Regions from separate parts of the Homo sapiens genome. Here regions 2 and 3 are each linked to region 1. Evidence: promoter capture Hi-C in 16 types of primary human blood cells and fetal thymus (Javierre and others, 2016). All regions are on one chromosome and are shown on one strand. Each heading gives the region's core, a stretch centred on a gene start or on the middle of the fragment in contact. The rest is flanking DNA. Distances are from core to core; before and after follow the strand shown.

Evidence for each region. Contacts are between HindIII fragments. The CHiCAGO score rates a contact against its expected background, and 5 or more counts as called.
Region 2: a contact is called between a fragment that was not itself captured here and the fragment with the promoter of SDR9C7 in region 1, in 3 of 17 cell types (erythroblasts, endothelial precursors and M1 macrophages). The highest score is 7.1, in erythroblasts.
Region 3: a fragment that was not itself captured here is called in contact with the fragment with the promoter of SDR9C7 in region 1 in 2 of 17 cell types (M2 macrophages and erythroblasts); the score reaches 5.6 in M2 macrophages.

The regions. Positions count from the first base shown.
Region 1 is chr12:56,932,281-56,936,919 of GRCh38, reverse strand. SDR9C7 (short chain dehydrogenase/reductase family 9C member 7) reads left to right here and starts at 2,512. Exons shown (of 4, transcript NM_148897.3): 1 at 2,512-2,959. The coding sequence starts at 2,659. The HindIII fragment of the contact is 2,217 bases long and covers 1,913-4,129 here.
Region 2 is chr12:56,822,322-56,826,960 of GRCh38, reverse strand. No RefSeq gene overlaps it. Among named protein-coding and RNA genes, the nearest start is that of HSD17B6, 61 kb to the right of the region's middle. The HindIII fragment of the contact is 1,687 bases long and covers 1,536-3,222 here.
Region 3 is chr12:56,865,393-56,870,031 of GRCh38, reverse strand. No RefSeq gene overlaps it. Among named protein-coding and RNA genes, the nearest start is that of SDR9C7, 67 kb to the left of the region's middle. The HindIII fragment of the contact is 2,669 bases long and covers 722-3,390 here.

The DNA of each region.
Region 1 (4,639 bases), core at 1,263-3,762:
AGGGAGGAGGAGGCAGGTGCCTTCATGGGGATCTGGGGATAAGAGGGATGAACTCAGGAGGAAATTGAAGAGAGAAGTTGGATTATCCCTGCCCTGTCTCAGCCCTTTCTGCCACCAAGGTGAGGGGCAATTGTTTCCTTTCCAGGAGTGAATCAAGTAGCCTGGGGTCACAGGAGTGCACAGAGGGACAAGGAAGCAATGACATGTCACAAAGGCACTGGCAGGCCTCTTTGTAGCACTTTGTAGCGACCTCTTTGTAGCACTCAGTGACCGGCCCTCACTTTAACATCATTGCACTTGGGAGGGGTGCTGTTTCATGGGGTGAGAAATAGAGTGGTGGGAGGGAGCTCTCAAGTTCAGGGTCATGTACCTCACTTCCCTCACCTCTGTTCTAGTTTTTTTCTGGGACGTTATTCAGGACTCTGGTGATATTAGGAGGAAAGAACCACATTTTGCTGCTTAGGAAGGGAGACCCAATCACAGATAATGGCATCCCACTTCCTTGGGCTCTGAGCTTCATGGCCCACCTGTCAACCTGAAGAATCCACACTTGTGGAAGGTCTTGAGCAACTGGGGGTGGGTGAGCCCACACCTGCTCTTCCTCCTGTCTACCTCATCAGGGTGTGTCTTGGACCTCAGCAGTCTATGCTCTCCCACTGGAGGGAAATGGCCTGGCAGAGGAGAGGGCTCCTCTCCTCTGAGATACCTGTGTGCATGGGGTGGGGATGGGGAGTGCAGCTACCAACCTGACCTATCAGACCTTAGGGGCCAGCTTGGCAAGGAATGCTGTCATCTGAGAGAGGGAGGCATTTCTAGCCCTGGGAAGAAGAGCCTTCTATGTGGTCCTACCTCCCTCACACCCCCCACCCTCATGGACTGTGTGTTTAGTTTGAGGCCAGGGGAACACTGCCAGCATAGAGGCCCAGGAGGTGCTGAGTCAGGCCCAGGCCTGTGCTGGGGCAGTTCTGAGTTATCCTTATGCTAAGTCAGACCCAACTCCTGGACCTCACCTGTGTCCTCAAGGACTGGGATACCCAATGCCCCGGACCTGCTCAGTCTTGAGTGACATGGTCTGACCTGTTTCAGCCAAGACTTCTCTGTTCATTCACCCAGGAGGCAGACAGAGACTGGGAGATTGTTCCCAGATCCCGCATAGGAGGTGCTCTGCCTCAGGTTGGTTATGAAGTAGGTGTGGTTTGCTTTCTACCATTTCCCACCTCCATCCCCTATAAGCTTTAGGTCTGCTCTTTGGGGGTGGGTTCATAATCTGGCCCCCTCCCCTACTTTGTTAAGGAACGGCCAAACCCTGCGGGGCTTTCCCAGGGTGACACCTGCTTTATGTGATTCCACGCTGGTCAGACTTGGCAAATGGTGGATCACAGAGATACATCCTTTGTCCCTTCACACTAGAGAACTTTGTGGTCCCATTTCTGTGTCAGACTCGCTAAGCCATGAAGGTGTGAGCTAGGACCAGGCTCATCCCAAGGAATGGTGACCCTAGATGTTGATCCAAAGAACCACAGAGGCTCCAGCATCATTCCCTGCATCTTATGCAATTCTGGGTGTGGCCCCTCACTACTCACACCTCTGGTTTCCTTATTTCCTTTCCTTTACCACCTTACCTCTTAGCTTTCTGTAAATTATTTGCTAAATTGCCTAGAATCTCTGTTTCTCCTCCAAGTCCCGACCCTGAGAATTTTCTATGTCTCTGGCCCCAGTTCTCTGCTCCTCCTATATCTCATCCCCTCTTACAGTCAAGGCCTCTGCCCAGACAATTCCCTCAGCTGCCCAGTGAACTCATGATCCCTCCTCATCATCTTGCCCAGGGCTGCTTACTGGTGACCTGAGTATGACCCCCACAGGGTGTCAGGCCTGAGTCCCCCAGGTCTTTCTGCTTTCTGGTGGCTAAGCTTCACATGCCAGCCTCCCCTATAGGAGGGCCCTGCTGCCTCTAGCCTCAGGACAATGGAGGTACATCCACCCTAGGAGAAATCCATTGCTTTTCATCCTCTCTCATGATGGAGACTTACCTAAGAATTCCAGAGAGCTGATGACCTGCGACTTGTTTCTCTTGGGGTTTGGAAGGTACAGAACCAATGTTGTTTGTTTTACATTAATAAATTTGTCTTGAGTATTTTCCCTGAAAATAAACTTATTTACATACCTGCACTCACGACAAATGATTTTGATCCCTGGAGACCAAAATCCCCAGGCTGGGTTGGGGGCAGGGTGGGGACAGGATTTCTAGGGGAGCTGTCTGGGGTGAGTCCTCATCTTTCATTTGCCTGCCTTACACCGCCTGGGTGAGCCACCACTCATCACCAACATTACAAGTGGATTATTTCCAATTCTTGGCAGCTTTACCCATCAGGGCAGGGGGAGAGAGGGAGGCAGCTACCAGGGCTGTCAGAGGTGACAAGGCTTCAGGTTGGACTTGAATTTCTTGCATCTGGGCTAATTGCTGTGGTGATGCATCCACCTATAAAAATTACAGCGTGGCTCACCCAGGGACCTAGATTTGTTGCAAGCTGTGGGAGGAAGGAGAGTTCTTCTTCCAGGTGGTTTCCTGCAGACTGCCTGCTAGGGCTCAGAGGACCAGCTTCTTCCCTGCTGTCTCCTGAGCCCAGTCCCTCTTGGCCATCACATTCCCCTTGCCCTATGGCGGCCCTCACAGACCTCTCATTTATGTATCGCTGGTTCAAGAACTGCAATCTGGTTGGCAACCTCTCAGAGAAGTACGTCTTCATCACAGGCTGTGACTCTGGCTTCGGGAACCTGCTGGCCAAACAGCTGGTTGATCGGGGCATGCAGGTGCTGGCTGCTTGCTTCACTGAGGAGGGATCCCAGAAACTTCAGCGGGATACCTCCTATCGGCTGCAGACCACCCTACTGGATGTCACCAAGAGCGAAAGCATCAAGGCGGCGGCCCAGTGGGTGAGGGACAAAGTGGGCGAACAAGGTGGGGCGAATTACATTCTTTGGCTTTCTTGGTTTCTCCTTCTTCCTCTTCCTCTCTCCCGAAGCATCTGACAGTATCAGAGACCCTGATGTCCAGATTGGGTGGGAGGGGTGATGTAGGGAAAGGCCCCTGCCTCAATCTGATTGGAAGCCACTGCATGGTTTGGCCTGTTCACATGAAGGGGTGATTTCCCAAGGAAGTTTTCTGTCCTGGAAACTCAGAGAAACGGGAAAGAGGTCTCAATAGGAAGCGAGGGGGGAAGATGTGTTCTGTGTGTCCAAACCTCTAAAAATGGACGTGCCTGGCTGGGCGTGGTGGCTCACGCCTATGAGCCCAGCACTTTGGAAGGCCGAAGTGGGAGGATCATGAGGTCAAGAGATCGAGACCATCCCGGCCAACATGGTGAAACCCCATCTCTACTAAAAAGTATAAAAATTACCTGGGTGTGGTGGCACGTGCCTGTAGTCCCAGCTACTCAGGAGGCTGAGGCAGGAGAATCACTTGAACCCGGGAGGCGGAGGTTGCAGTGAGCCAAGATTGCGCCACTGCACTCCAGCCTCGTGACAGAGCAAGAATCCCTCTCAAAAAGAAAAAAAAGAAAAAAAAAGGATGTGCCTCTCTGATGTTTCAGCAGTCCTAACCATCAGCTCCTGGGGAAATACAAACACATTTCTTGTTGGGATCAGGATGGGGGAGGGGGAATGAGACAGGAGGCTGGATCCCATGAGTGGGTGCAGTTTGTCTCCTTGACTATGTCAGGCAGGGGAGAAAGAGATCTGGTCTCTTCTTGACATCATGGTGGGTGTTGATTTGACTTCAGGGCAAGTATGTATGTCACAGTGGCTGCTCCTATTGGGAAAGGAAGCTGTGGACTGGGGCTGGCCCAGGACTGTGTGGGGACCTGCCTCATGCACTTCCAGCACACAGGGTGTGGGCCCAGGAACAGGAGGAACAGGATGGCTGAGTTGCAGAAGCAGCAGACTAGAGGAAGTCCTCCCTCCTAAAGGAACTAGTCTGGAGCCCATGCGCAGGTCAGGGCAACAGAGCCCTGGAGCCAGGGGGATCTAGACAGTAACTCCCTGCTTGATTCTTCTCCTTAGCACTTATCACTAGTCAATGTACAATAGATTTTACTTATTTATTGTCTGTTTCCTCTGCTAGAATAAAGCTTCCTGGGGACAAGGATTTTTGTCCCTTTTATTTACTGTACATCCTTAGTACCTAGAATAATGTCTGGCACCTAGTAAGGTACTGAATAAATAGATTTGAGTGAGCTAATTAATTAATAATTCAGCAAGAGTGAGCCTCTGTCTTCAGCAGGCTGTCTCAGCCAGTTCCCTACATTCAGCCTTGAGCCACTTGCCTTAATACCTCACTTAGCATGTGAGTTTCCTGTTGCTATTGTAACAAATAACACAACTGTGGGGTCTGAAGACAATACAAACATATTATCTTGTAGTTGTGGAGGAGTAATGTCTAAAATAGGCCTCACTGATCTAAAATCAAAGTCAGCAGAGCTGTGTTCCTTCTAGAGGCTGTAGAGGAGAATCCGTCTCATCGACTTTTCCAGCTTCCAGAGGCAGCTGGCATCCCCTGGCTCCTGGCCTGCTACCTCCATCTTCAAGGCCCGCAAGGTTGGGCCCAGTCTTTTTCACACTTTTCTCAAGCTCTCTGATTCTC
Region 2 (4,639 bases), core at 1,130-3,629, 110 kb after region 1:
GCATTTCTATACATTATCAATGAACAATCCAAAAGGGAAATTTTTTTAAATTCCATTTACAATAGCATCAAGAAGAATAAAATACTAAGGCATAAACTTCATCAAGGCAGCAAAATACTTGTACACTAAAAACCACAAAATGTTGCAGAAAGAAATTTTAAAAGGCACAAAAATTGGGACAGGTATGGTGGTTCATGCCTGTAGTCCCAGCTGCTTGGGAAGCTGAGGCAGGAGGATCACTTGAGCCCAGGAGTTCAAGGCTGCAGTGAGCTATGATTGTGCCACTGCACCCCAGCCTGGGCAACAGAGGACACCCTGTCTCTAAAAAAAAAAAAAAAAAAGGCCACGCATGGTAGTGGCTCAGGCCAGGCATGGTGGCTCACGCCTGTAATTGCAGCACTTTAGGAGGCCAAGGCGGGTGGATCACCTGAGGTCAGGAATTCGAGACCAGCCTGGCCAATATGGTGAAACCCCATCTCTACTAAAAATACAAAAAATTAGCTGGGCGTGGTGGTGTGCACCTGTAATCCCAGCTACTTGGGAGGCTGAGGCAGGAGAATCGTTTGGACCTGGGAGGCAGAGGCTGCAATGAGCCAAGATTGCATCACTGTACTCCAGCTGGGCGAAGGAGGAAGACTCCATCTCAACAACAACAAAAAAGATGCAAATAAACAGAAAGCACTCCATATTCATGAATTGGAAGACTTAAGATTGTAAAGATATTAATACCACCAAAAGTGATCTACGGAGTCAATGCAATCCCTATCAAAATCCCAACAATATTTTTACATAAATTTTAAAAATCCATTCTAAAATTCATTTGGAATATCAAATGACCCCAAATAACCAAAACAATGTTGAAAAGAACAACAAAGATGGCAATCTCTCACTTCCTGATTTCAAAACTTACTACAAAGCTATGATAATCAAACCAGTGTGTTACTGACATAAAGACAGATACCTAGACCAACGGAATAGAATAGATAACACAGAAATAAACCCTTGCATATATGGTCAAATGATTTTTAACGAGGGTGCCAAGACCATTCAATGGGGAAAGGACAATCTTTTCAACAAATGGTAACGGGAAAACTGAATATTCACCTGCAAAAGAATGAAGTTAGACCTGTACCTTACACTATATGCAAAAATTAACTCAAAATAGATCAAAGACCTAAATTTAAGAACTAAAACTATAAAACTCCTAGAAGAAAATACAGGGAGATGGCCGAGTGTGGTGGCTCACACATGTAGTCCCAACACTTTGGGAGGCCACAGCAGGTGGATCACTTGAGCCCAGGAATTGGAGACCTGCCTGGGCAACATGGCAAGACCCCATCTCTACAAAAAATACAAAAATTAGCCAGGCATGGTGGCATGCACCTGTAGTTCCAGCTACTAGGGAGGCTGAGGAGGGAGGATTGTTTGAGCCCAGGAGGCAGAGGTTGCAGTGAGCTCTGATCATGCCACTGCACTCCAACCTGGGCAACAGAGCAAGACCCTGTCTCAAAAAACAAAAAAACAGGGAGAAAGCTTCATGACGTTGGATTTGGCAGTGATTTCTTGGATATGACACTGAAAGCACAGGCAACAAGAGGAAAAAAAATGGACACATTGGACTACATCAAAATTAGAAACTTCTGTCCACTCCTGAATTTTTGTTAATATATTTTGCTGCCGAAACAAAGAGTTTGCAGGTTTGGTATACCCTCTGATAGTGGGGGCATATTGACAGCTGCTATGTCCATCACAAACACATGCCTTCCTCTGCAAAAGAGTAACTGTGCAGCCAATTATCCTCAAATGACATGAACTTCTTCCTCGACATTTCTCCCTTAAATTTCCAGGGAAGATTTTGATTTATTTACTTAACAAAACAACCCTCGCAAATTTACCAGGTGGTTGAAAAATAATTATAATAGTAATAATAGGCCAAGTGCAGTGGCTCACACCTGTACTCCCAACACTTTGAGAGGCCAAGGCAGGAGGATCCCTAGAGCCCTGAAGTTTGAGACCAGCCTGGGCAACAGAGGGAGACACCATCTCTATAAAAAAAATTTTAAATTAGTCAGATGTGGTAGTACACCTGTAGTCCCATCTGCTCAGGAGGCTGAGGTGAGCAGATCACTTAAGCCCAGGAGTTTGAGGCTGCAGTGAGCTGTGATCGCCACTGCTGCACTGAAGCCTGGATGACTCTGCCTCTAAAAAAAAAAAAATTAATAGTAATAAGAAAATAATATTATAATGGACACTATCACAAAAGGCAAATACCTTAAACTATTCCTGCAGTGTTGTTTTGTCCAGGCCGAAACCAAAACTGGAGCCCCAAAGTCTGTAGCAGGGAAATTCCCAAGAAGGATTATCTGTAAACCATTTGGAGATGGGGCTGGTTGAGATTCCAAAGAGAGAAGCACTAAACACCAGGGTAATTAGTCTAAAGTATTTATCAGGGGAACTTACTTACAAAAGGGGCTGCAGGAATCCTCTCAACAGCAAGCGAAAGAGATGTTCCACCTAGCTATGTCTGCAATAAGGGGGTTGTGTTATGGAGTTTATATGAGGGTTTGAGGAGTTTGGTTAAGGGCTGGGGCTAGTTTCTTTCAGTGTTCTGGACAACAACCTAAACATGTTTACCAGAGCCTGGGAATGTTCAAGGACCTGACTTAACCCTGCAAAAAAACATGCAACTGGCCAGGTCACAGAGTGGTCAAGGCACTCTGTATTTCTTAGTCGGGATAGATAAAAAGGTTGGGAAAACTAGAGGACCCTATGAATGTATTAGCCAAATAGTATTTGATCAAAAGCATAAATGAAAATTGATGATCCCAAGCATTCATGTGGGAAATCAACTTTTTTTCCTAGAGCTTATCCAATAGTCTAGACAAAATTCTATTTCTGTAAAAAGTAATCAACTTATAAGATGTAGCTAAAAGAGTAATGATCAATATTGTTTCAGATTGCCTAGCACATTTTCTCATGTTCCAAATACAGATCTCTGTGTCCTCCCAGTTCACTCTCATCCAACCCAGCCCCCCCCCATGTCATTTAAACAAGGAAAAGATATGACTTTGCTTTTATTATCTAGGTTAGACAAAATGTTCCCTGAGTTTCCATCAAGTTTTAATTTTGCCAAAGAAATATAATCACAGTTTTCTTAAAAGCCTGTCCCAAGTAGTCATGCCTCTATCTCTGAATTTATTGGCTATCCGGTTATCTTAAGCTTTAACCAGCACAAGTTTCTTTGACGAATTCTTACTTGCATTTAGAAAGGTCATGTTCTTCAGTTTCTGGAGATTGCCTTGAGCTGAGAACAGGCTCCATCAAAGGTCATGGATGGCAGAATGGGCTGGCCATGAAAGACCTCTGAACTCCAGTGGAAAAGCAGATGGAACTTGGAAAGTAAACTAAGGCTACCTCAAAACAACGGCCTTTGTCTTAGGGCAGGCAAGTCAATAGATTATATGAAAATTGTTCTGGGCCGGGCACGGTGGCTCAGGCCTGTAATCCCAGCACTTTGGGAGGCTGAGGCAGGTGGATCACCTGAGATCAGGAGTTCGAGACCAGCCTGGCCAACATGGTGAAACCCCATCTCTACTAATAATACAAAAACTAGCTGGGCGTGGTGGCACACGCCTGTAATCCCAGATACTCGGGAGGCTGAGGCAAGAGGATTGCTTGAACCTGGGAGGTGGAGGTTGCAGTGAGCCGAGATAGCGCCATTGCACTCCAGCCTGGGTGACAGAACAAGACTCCGTCAAAAAAAAAAAAAAAGAAAGAAAAGAAAGAAAAAGGAAGGAAGGAAAAAGAAAGAAAAGAAAAGAAAAGTGAAGGGGTGACTTTCCCCTCCACAACTGTGGGTATTTCTAGTTGGGTGGGACGAGAGACTGAGAAAAGAAATAAGACACAGAGACAAAGTATAGAGAAACAACAGTGGGCCCAGGGGAACGGCGCTCAGCATACCAAGGACCTGCACCGGCACCGGTCTCTGAGTTCCCTCAGCTTTTATTGATTATTATTTTCATTATTTCAGCAAAAAGGAATGTAGTAGGAGAGCAGGGTGATAATAAGGAGAAGGTCAGCAAAAAACATGTGAGCAAAAGAATCTATGTCATAATTAAGTTCAAGGGAAGGTACTATGCCTGGATGTGCACGTAGGCCAGATTTGTTTCTCTCCACCCAAACATCTCAGCGGAGTAAAGAAAAACAAGGCAGCATTGCTGCAAACATGTCTTGCCTCCCACCATAGGGCGGTTTTTCTCTCATCTCAGAATTGAACAAATGTACAATCGGGTTTTATACCGAGACATTCAGTTCCCAGGGGCAGGCAGGAGACAGTGGCCTTCCTCTATCTCAACTGCAAGAGGCTTTCCTCTTTTACTAATCCACCTCAGCACAGACCCTTTACGGGTGTCGGGCTGGGGGACGGTCAGGTCTTTCTCATCCCATGAGGCCATATTTCAGACTATCACATGGGGCAAAACCTTGGACAATACCCCGCTTTCAAGGGCAGAGGTCCCTGTGGCTTTCCGCAGTGCATTGTGCCCCTGGTTTATTGAGACTAGAGAATAGCGATGACTTTTACCAAGTATACTGCTTGTAAACATTTTGTTAACAAGGCACGTCCTGCACAGCCCTGGAT
Region 3 (4,639 bases), core at 807-3,306, 66 kb after region 1:
TCATGCCTGTAATCCCAGCACTTTGGGAGGACAAGGTGGGTGGATCACTTGAGGTCAGGAGTTTGAGACCAGCCCGGGCAACATGGTGAAACCCCATCTCTACTGAAAACACAAAACTTAGCTGGGCGTGGTGGCGCACACCTGTAGTCCCAGCTACTTGGGAGGCTGAAGCATGAGAATCACTTGAACCAGGGAGGCGGAGGCTGCAATGAGCTGAGATTGCACCACTGCACTCCAGCCTGGGTGACAGAGTGAGACCTTGTCTCAGAAAGACAGAGAGAGAGAGAGAGAGAGAGAGAGAGAGAGAGAGAGAGAGAAAATAATTCCAAATTGAGTGAATGCCTTAATGAAATAGAAAGAGAGATTAGAGCTTTAAGCCTGAAACTAAAACTGCAAAAAACCCTCTGGAAGAAACTTCTTCCACTAGACTCCCCTTTCTGCCACTCTTCCTGTCTTCATTCCCCTTTCTGCCACTCTTCCTGTCTTCTTGTCTTCTTCCAGTCTTTCTTTCAGAAAATCTTTTTGCCACCTGTCCTTTATCCTTCACTTTCTCCTGCCTCTTTCACTCTTTCAGCTGGTTATTTTGGAAACATTTCTAAATTTTTTCTGAACTTGTCTGTGTGTTTTCTTGTAAAATCCTGTGAGAAATTCCTGCAATTGTATGTTACATTGATATCCATTTTAATCCTCTTCTAACACACCCAGACTTCTTGAAAAAGCTTAAATTCTTTCTGTGCTTGAGGTATAAATTTCCTACCTTGTTTTCTTTAAAGCTCGGTAAAGGCTTCAGCCATGTGGAACAGATAAATTTCAACCTGTTCCATTTACAGAAATGCAGTTGGAATCAAATTGTTTTTTTAAACTAATCAGTTTTACTTAACTCATAGCTAAGTTTTAAAACAAAAGCTATAAGATCTTTATTTGTGTCTGTATTTTTGTGTATATATATGTTTACATATCTATTCATATATTGTCTATAATTCCAAATTGTTTTATAAATAAATGAGTACTCACCAGGTGCAATGGCTTATGCCTGTAATCCAAGCTCCTCAGGAGGCTGGGGTGGGAGGATCACTCGGCTCACCTCAACCTCTGCCTCCTGGGTTCAAGCTATTCTCGTGTCTCAGCCTCCCAAGTAGCTGGGACTACAGGCACACACCACCACACCTGGCTAATTCTTGTATTTTTAGGACAGATGGGGTTTTGCTGTGTTGGCCAGGACTTTGAGGCTGCAGTCAGCTATGATTGGGCCACTGCACTCCAGCCTGGGTGACAGTGAGAGCCCATCTCTTAAGAAAAAAAAAAGAATACTCATAGATTAAGCAAATAATCTGAAATGCTTTTCAAGTTAATGTGATTTAGTCATCTTTTGGCAGATGGGACTAGACTAATATTGTTAAATAATTGTTAAATAATTTTAAAAAAATTGTTGTTTTGATGGAAATTGCTGCATCTTCTGAGTTATCAGCAAAATGTGCTTGTATTTAACTTTAGAGTTCTTGCTTTTATAATATTTGCCTGGAAGGCAGTAATGTACAATTGGTTGACAGAAACAGCTTGGGATAATGGCTAGATTTGTTTGATGTCTCTGGAAATTTTCTAGGCATAATTCTTTGAGAGTGAATGGATTTGGTGAATGTGGACAGGATAAATTTTGTAAATTAACTTTTGATAATGGTTTATGTTTTGTAATATGTTTACTTGGGAAGGTTTTTTAAATCTCTTTGGTAAGTATACCCTAAGAGTTTAGTTAAGCTAAATTAAATGATGGATGTTCATTGAATGTCTAGGTCATTTACAGATAAAATATAATGCTGAGATATTTGTTGTTGAATGTAAGTATAGGCTCATATACTGCTGGCTTCTTATTTCCAAGAAAAACAAAAGTTATTTGAATCTGTTAGTAGAAATGTCCTGTTTCATATTAAAGAGTTGTTTTGTTAGAAAGCCTATGTCTCTGGAAATTGTAAAATGTGTATCATGGATTTTTGGTATGTGATTGGTGGTTAAGAGTTGATAACTTCTAGCTGGGTGTGGTGGCTCATGTCTGTAATCCCAGCACTTTGGGAGGCCAAAGCAGGTGGATCACCTGAGGTCAGGAGTTTGAGACTACCCTGGCCAACACAGCAAAACCCCATCTGTCCTAAAAATATAAGAATTAGCCAGGTGTGGTGGTGTGTGCCTGTAGTCCCAGCTACTTGGGAGGCTGAGACATGAGAATAGCTTGAACCCAGGAGGCAGAGGTTGAGGTGAGCTGAAATTGTGCCACTGCACTCCAGCCTGGGTGATAGAGTGAGACTCTGTCTCAAAAGAAAAATTGATAACTTCCTGGGTTTTCTTTGAAAATTAGGGTTTCTAAGAGTTGACATTATAACTAATGTGTGTGATTAAACTACTAGAGATGAAAAAGACCATTCCATATGTAAGCATATGAGAAGTATATGATGTATTTTTGGTAAGGAAGGTTGAAAAGGAAGAGGATTATTTTGTATAAGAAAGAATGTTGTATGGCAAATTTTTCTCCTAGAGTAAAATGATTGGTTATTTAAGAAAGAGAAAGTGTAAGAAAAAGCAGAATGTCCAAGCATATCATAAATGGTCTGAGTAAGTCATGATAAGGTTTATAAAAATAGCATTTATAGAGGAAATTTTCTGTGTCATCACTTTGTCTACAATTGGAGGGAAATTATTTATGGGTCTTACTAGGGATTGAACTTTGATGTGAAAAACACACTGATGCAGATTTTGTCCCGTGTGTTAGAATAGCAAGGTTTCTTTAGAATGTTGATTTGCTCTTAGTAAAATTATAGGAGGTTTTGATTAATTCTGAAATGTGTTTCTTTGACAGCCATCCTCTCAATTACAAACAGTTTCTATTTCTGCCACATTTCTCCCTGGAATCTATCTAACTTCTTTCTCTAGTTTCAGGTTGGAAATACAGCTCTACTTCTTTCTATCCTAAAAAGATATGGTTTTTGCTTGGTTGGGATGATAACATTCTCCTTCAACCTTTTTGTTGACTCCTGTAACATTTTTCTGGTTCTGCCAGTTCACTTTTCATCAGGTTTAACTTTCAGGTTATCTAAATGAACTTACCAAAAGAAAAAGCAATCACATTGCAAGAGATTTTCTTTTCTTTGCCTTGTGGGCAATTGGCCTAGGAAACAAAGATTCTGTTTTACCAAGATAATTTCCTGTGCTTCAAGTTATCTTTATTAGGTTTTTTATTACTTAGGAAAACTGAGCTTTAAAAGGGTTAAGGTTTTTACATTCATGTAACTTTTTCTATTGTTTTTGACATCTTTTGATTGTCAGTCTGGTTAAATGAATAACTATCATCTTGCAGCGAACTTTGATTCTATTGAATCAGATACTTTGAACTTTAAAGCTTGTGACATCTTTGGAAGGTTTCCTGGGATCAAAGCCCTAAATTAAATCTTTTAGATATTATTAGGAAGCATTGTCAAATAAAAATTATTTTTAACTTTCTTTAAGTTGCATGTGTAAATGTGTTATTAAAATGTGTTTCAAAATTTCATGTGATAAAATTCTGAGATATAGTGATATGTGTTGTCAATCAGCTATAGTCCAAAATTGCTTTTCATGGAACTGCTGATCAGTGTCAAGCAAGGTAAAATTGATTACATGAAATTAAGTAATTGATAAGGATAATGTTTTATGACTTTTATTTAGAGCATTCTTGGTCTTACATGTTTTGTTTTTCAGATTCAAGGAAATTTACTTCATAATTTTTTATAGTTTGTAATAATTTGGTAAAATATCCTTTCGTTAACAAAAGTGGAAGCATTTGCTTTTTCTCCCTACTTGAGATCTCCAAAATTTAGAAACTATTTTTGAGTATTCTTATTTTATTTACATGCTCTCTATAAGCAGGATACAAGTGGAATTCTCAGTTATAATATCAAGGTTTTGACTGAAATGTCATATTTAAGAATGTACATAAAATGCCTGGCTTCAAGAGTTCCCAGGCTTACCGTAAGTGAGTCAAAATTGCTACTTCCAGGCATGCCCAAGGACACTAAGATTGTAAGTGAAATCTAAAGTTTGCCTTCATTTGGCTTCCTAAACTCAAAAGGTTTTAAATTTAAGATTCCTATAAAATCAGTGTAAAAAGAAAAACTTATGTTTCCAAAGAAAAACTATATAACTGTTACTATATTGTAGATCTGTACATTGTTTTCAGATCCTTGTTATTTACCTGTAGACTGGACTACACCCTGAATTCTCCTAATTTCCTGATGCCTCTGCCAAACTCCAACAAGGAACACTCTTAGACAATTAACAGGTGCTTACCTGACTTTCTACCTTGCCTGGCCCAGGCTGTTCAAATTGGCTATGAGCTCTTAGTCACAGAAGTCCCACCAAGGGACTAGACAGACCCAGAGCAGGTAGCCACATCACTTCAACAATAATATGGGACAAAGACATAACACTGGTAGTCAATGCTGCCTATGGCAGGTTTCAACCAAAGGGAGTGAAATGTCAAAGTATGCCCCTGGCCAACAGACTAAATGAATTCCCCATGGCTAACTGAGGTGCTCAAAGTTACAGGAAGTATGGCTGAGAAGGCCTCAGGAAACTTACAATCATGGCAGAATGCAAAGGACAAGTAGGCACA